Linked DNA regions of Homo sapiens: region 2 is linked to region 1. Evidence: promoter capture Hi-C in 16 types of primary human blood cells and fetal thymus (Javierre and others, 2016). All regions are on one chromosome and are shown on one strand. Each heading gives the region's core, a stretch centred on a gene start or on the middle of the fragment in contact. The rest is flanking DNA. Distances are from core to core; before and after follow the strand shown.

Region 1 (2,813 bases), core at 166-2,665:
AAAATTTGTGGTCCCTTATACGCTTGAAGCCCACGCCAAATGACTTTACTTGTCAACCTCTATTGTATGTCTTGGATATGCCCCCATGCAAGGCACTCTGACTTGTTTGGCCTTAGCATGTGTGGACAGCCTTGGGCCCAGCCCTAAATTTTCGATTGTAAACCCAGGTGTATCCCTAAGAGATATAGCTGTCTAGGAAGTTTCCCTGTTTCAGGTGTCAGTTTCCTATTCTGAGCTAGACAATTCTAAAATGCCTATGCCCCACGCCTCCCCTTTAGAAACTGAGGAAGAAGTGAGGGGAAAGAAAAGTTGACTAGAGTATTTGTTTTTACATAGGCATAATGGGCACAATTAGGCAATACATTATTTTGAATATGCAGACCAGGTGCTATAATGTTAGGAATCTGAATTAAAATTTCAAATGTCTTTTGTTAGAGTATAGCCGGGGTTGGCATCGTTTTGTGTTTGTCATAAAGAGGTATTTACTAAATGGCCTTTCTTTCTTGAAACAGTCCACACAGGCCTAATACTTATTCATTCATTCAACAAATATGGAAGGTCTACTATGTGACAAGGATGGCTTATTATGTTCTCATAGCCATAGCTCATTGTCACTCAGGTAGGACACATACAAGTTCTGCTACATATAATATAGTTTTATGTATTTTACTAAATTGTAAAACCTTTGATGTCTGGGATTATGTCTTGTTAATTTTTGTATCCCCCTGTATCACTGAGAGCAGTGATACACATCACAGGGATACAATACATATTTGAATTATGCCATAATGTTTTAAAAGACATAACAAACGCACTAGAAGACATAACAAACGCACTATGTAAGTTTTTTTTACTGTTAGCAGTCTAAAGCAGATGTATCAACAGGGTATCACTGTTATGCAAGTAAATAAATATTAAGTGTTTACAGAGAAGGATATGTTCACTTCAAGAGTGAAGGAACAAGAGAAATATATAATTGGGTGGAGACTGGTGTGGAAGAAGCTAATCTTCCTCCGGTCACTCCAGAATGATTGTGTAGAGTTACTAGAATGTCAGTCTTTTCATTCTGAAGTATTTTCATCTCTCTCACCTTTCTACAACTACTCCACCCCTTTCAGCTCCTTCCCAACGGCTGTAGCCAACTGATTCTACCCCAGAGTCCTAAGAGTCCACCCTGTACTCCTCCAACTCCTGTTCAAGAATGCTCCAGACCAGGAGCTTTAGGGACTCGGGTCGGGAAAACACGGGGTCACGCGCGGGGCAAGCGCCAAACTGGCCGCAGCCTGGGGAGCGGCGCTAAAGGCGGGGCTGCGACGGGGCGGAGCGGGAGGAGGCCCGGGGGCGGCCTGGGTGTCACCACCAACCCGCTCCGGCCGGAAACTGGCGCCTGTTTCCGGCCGGACAGCAGAAAGCCACCGATCCTGAACCAGCCGCCGGAGCCGGAGTGGCGACCGGGTGCGGAGTGGGCAAAAAGCCACTGGGGGAGGCCAGTCCCGATCAGTCCTTTCTGGCTCCAGCTCCAGATCCCGTGCGGAGCAACAGCTGCGGTCGCAGTCTCCACCACCGCCTCCACCTCCATCGCCGTCGGGGGAGGGGCCGGCCGGACCCCGGGGTCACTGCCGAGGAATGAAGAGAGGCGGCCGGGCCCCGCGCTCCGCCCCGGCCTAGGGCCTTGCCCCGGGAGCCCGCGAGGGTAACGGAGCCCCCCGTCCTGACACCGTCCCCCGTCTGCTCCCGCCCCTCCCGGCTTCTCAGACTCGCAAACTCTGCTCCTCAGATCGCCACTGTCCCCTTTCTCCTTTCTGAATCTGTTTCACCCGAAGCCATCTCCCCTCGGCACTCCTTTCTCGCCCTGACTGCTCCTTGCTTCGTCCCGATCTTTCCTCCTCCCTTTCACCTGCGTCCTGCGTTCCTACCCCGCGCTCTCCAGCTCCCGGCCTCCCTTCCTGAGCTGTGCTGGCCAGTTTGGACGGTCCCCCCTTGTCAGCTAGACTTTCGGGAGGGATGGTGGAGTTTTAAGGTGATTAAGATGCAGTGTATTATCCCCACAGTAGGATAAAGTTCATTTAAAATCTCAATATAATACTAAAATGAAAAGCAAATAAGCTTATTCTTCCTATTGATAGCCAAACTAAGGTGCATACAGTAATGGAGGAAAGGCGAGAAAAAGGTGTGTGTGTGTGTTTGTGTGTGTGTGTGAGAGAGGGAGAGAGACGGAGGTTGACGGATTCTAGGGCAGTCTTAAGAACTTTAGAAAAAAGAAAAGTTGCCATGAGCCGATGGAAACTTTAGAAGCTGATGATGAGTAAGCCGGGGGCTGCGTGATCTCACTCTTCTCATAATTACTAGGTTAACGGTGTGGCTCCGGTCGGGATGGAATGGGATTTGTTTACTGGGCCGGCGTATTTTTAGCTTGTCGGCTCACAAGGACCAGCGCTCAGAGTCTCTTTCTCCCCGCTCGTGGTAGTCTTTCTTGTCTAACCTAGGTGGCTTCTCTGGGCACAATAAAGATGTAAAAATTTGAAATTAGAAACTGACTGGTGGAATTTTATGGAAGAAGTTCCCCACAAACTTTTCAGGCAGCTTTTCACGAATGCAAAGCCTAGAATTAGCAGGACGTTGACTTTTATTTTCCTTATCTTTTTATACGTACTACGTAACGCTTTGCTTAGAAATTCACATGCTGCTAATTTTTCAGTCTTTGGCCTCTAGTACTGTATATTTAGGAGATTTTTGAGGAGGCTGGATCCCTTTGTCTTTCAGAATCTATTTCAAAGGTGGAAAAGGACAGAGTAGAGAAAGAGGTGGCGGTA
Region 2 (2,945 bases), core at 306-2,805, 200 kb before region 1:
CATACAAAAATTATACGTTTTATTGGCATCAGTCACTTTTCAGAGAATATTTGCTTCACTTTTTCTTGTGCAACCAAAAGATGTCTTTGATCCTATGGAAGGAGAAGAGAATAATTAAATTTGAAATCTTGTATACACAATTTTTATTAAAATGTCAAAGGACAGTTACATGTTTCTATAGAATTAGCATATGTATATATATACGCTCTATCTATCTATCTATCTATCTATCTATCTATCTATCTATCTATCTATCTAGAGAGACAGGGTCTGTTACCCAGGGTGGAGTGCAGTGGCTATTCACAAGCACGATCCTGCTACTGATCCGCACGGGAGTTTTGACCTGCTCTATTTCTGACCTTGGCCAGTTTACCCCTCCCCTTAGGCAACCTCGTGGTCCCCTGTTCCTGGGAGGTCACCATATTGGTGCCGAACTTAGTGCGGACACGCGATCGGTATAGCACACTACAGCCCAGAACTCCTGGGCTCAAGCCGTCTCCTGCCTCAGCCTCCCAAGTAGCTGGGACTACAGGCACGGGACACCGCGCCTGGCAAAGTTAACAAATATTTAACTGCAGTAAAACTAATGTCAGTAGTTTCTCAGGCATTTTCATTGGCTTTTACAAAGTCACAAAATTGGGTAAAATGAGGGCCATTTACTTTATTTAAAAAAAAGAGGCCGAGCGCTGTGGCTCACGCCTGTAATCCCAACACTTTGGGACGCCGAGGCAGGTGGATCACAAGGTCAGGAGTTGGAGAGCAGCCTGGCCAATATGGTGAAACCTCGTCTCTACTAAAAAATACAAAAATTAGCCGGGCATGGTGGCACGTGCCTGTAATCCCAGCTACTCAGGAGGCTGAGGCAGGAGAATCGCTTGAACCTGGGAGGTGGAGCTTGCAGTGAGCCAAGATCGCGCCACTGCACTCTGGCCTGGGCAACAGAGTGAGACTCTGTCTCAAAAAAAGAAAAAAAAAAAAAAAAGAGATGAGAATATTCTTGGATTTTAAGAAGCCAAGATTTTCTAGTGGGTAATAGCATTTCTCAGAAAAGACTTTTTCTTTTAACAGACTAAATATTTAGGAAAACTTTTTTTCTTATATTGAGGGATTGTATTTTCAGCATTGTTTCGATGTTGCCGCAATATTTTAAAAAATACTTATTAGCAGGTGGAGATGATGTGAATTTGTTGTTTACAACCCGTAGGATATTGAAGAGCTACCTGCTGAGAGAGGAGCTGCTACCATCTGGTCTCTGCTATGAGGCCAAAGCACTACATTGGTCCCATGATAAACCTACTTTTCTTTTTGTGTCATTTATTTTCCTTTCCACTGCTATTCTATATCAGCCTTGAGGTTGCTATTGGAGTTGAGGGACAAATAAGAGGTCATATAATGTAGGCCATCGCATAATGATGAAACATCAATTCTGTGGTCTGTCTCTAAGGCTCTGTCCTTGATAATAAAATACAGTGTGCTGTAATGGTTATCAAGTTTCCACTCCATATTATTAGGTTATTAGCTATTAATTAGATATCACTTGCCATTTTTACTTTACATGACTGTAAATAACTGCTGTCTTTCAGATCTTCATGTACTCAATCTTTACAAGCGGTTTGCAATTAACATATTAAGAAAAAAACCATGGAGAATTATGTGCAAATCCTTTTCAAGGCAAGCAGTCTTACAGCTATGATCAAAGGCATAAAATGTAGAATATTTAACAAACTTTTAAAATCCTTTGTTTAAGGAACATAAGTGATAGGAAAACAAATATGAATGATACCAACTCTATCCCTTGAAAAACAGCCTAAACCCAAGATTATAAACCAAGAGCGAAATTGCAGGCAGAGAAATGGCTGAGCTGACAGCTTGTGCCCAGAAAGCTCAGAAGATGCCAAAACTTTGATTTGCTCACTTCAGTGAAGGCGTGATCCTTCATTTTGCAGGGCTATAGAAGGAGATGTATTTGAGTTTGTAAATACAAAATCGATCAATATGTGAGGGACAGACTTGTGCCGTGAAAATTCACCAAAGTCAGATTTCTAAATCAAGTTGTCAATTTATTAATTTACAGGGAGAATGTATATTTACATTGTTTATGGTATTATTGTTCAGTGTTCTAAATTGGCGCTCTTTAATAGACATATAATTCTGTCAAAAATGCAAGTTGGTGGAGTGCGGTGGCTCTCACCTATAATCCCAGCACTTTGGGAGGCCAAGGCGGGTGGATCACCTGAGGTCAGGAGTTGGAGACCAGCCTGGCCAACATGGTGAAACCCTGTCTCTACTAAAAACACAAAAATTAGCCAGGCATGGTGGTGGGTGTCTGTAATCCCAGTTACTCGGGAGGCTGAGGTAGGAGAATTGTTTGTGCCTGGGAGGCAGAGGCTGCAGTAAGCCAAGATCGAGCCACTCTACTCCAGCCTGGGTGACAGAATGAGACTCTGTCTCAAGAAATAAATAAATAAATAAAATAAAAATGCAAGTCACAGATGTATTTAGAATTTTCTAGTAGACATATTTAAAAAACTAAAAAGAAACAGGTAAAATTAATTTTAATGTATTTTAATTAACCCAACATATTCAAAATATTATACTTTCTACATGTAATCAATGTAAAAAATCATTAGTAAGATGTTTTGTATTTTTTTCATGCAAAGTCTTCCAAATCTGGGATGGATTTTATGCTTACAGCAAATCTCAATTCAGATAGCCACTTTTCTTTCTTTCTTTTTTTTTTTAACAGAGTTTTATTTTTATTTAGTTACTTTCTTCTTCTTTTTTTTCTTTTTATAAAGATAGGATCTCACCATGTTGCCCAGGCTGGTCTCAAACTCCTGGGCTCAAGTGATCCTCCCTCCTTGGCCTCCCAAAGTGCCTGGATTAGCCACATTTCAAGTGCAGTAGTCATGTTGCTAGGTGAAGGTCTCGTGTATCCCTTCTAG

What was found. Contacts are between HindIII fragments. The CHiCAGO score rates a contact against its expected background, and 5 or more counts as called.
Region 2: a contact is called between a fragment that was not itself captured here and the fragment with the promoter of OTUD7B in region 1, in 6 of 17 cell types (M2 macrophages, M0 macrophages, monocytes and 3 more). The highest score is 6.0, in M2 macrophages.

The regions. Positions count from the first base shown.
Region 1 is chr1:150,009,328-150,012,140 of GRCh38, reverse strand. It overlaps OTUD7B (OTU deubiquitinase 7B), which reads left to right and starts at 1,415. Exons shown (of 12, transcript NM_020205.4): 1 at 1,415-1,693. RefSeq lists silencers at 1,254-1,303, 1,564-1,853 and enhancers at 2,374-2,423, 1,788-2,670. The HindIII fragment of the contact is 17,924 bases long and covers 1-2,108 here.
Region 2 is chr1:150,209,240-150,212,184 of GRCh38, reverse strand. It overlaps the pseudogene RN7SL480P. Among named protein-coding and RNA genes, the nearest start is that of ANP32E, 25 kb to the left of the region's middle. The HindIII fragment of the contact is 5,688 bases long and covers 1-2,945 here.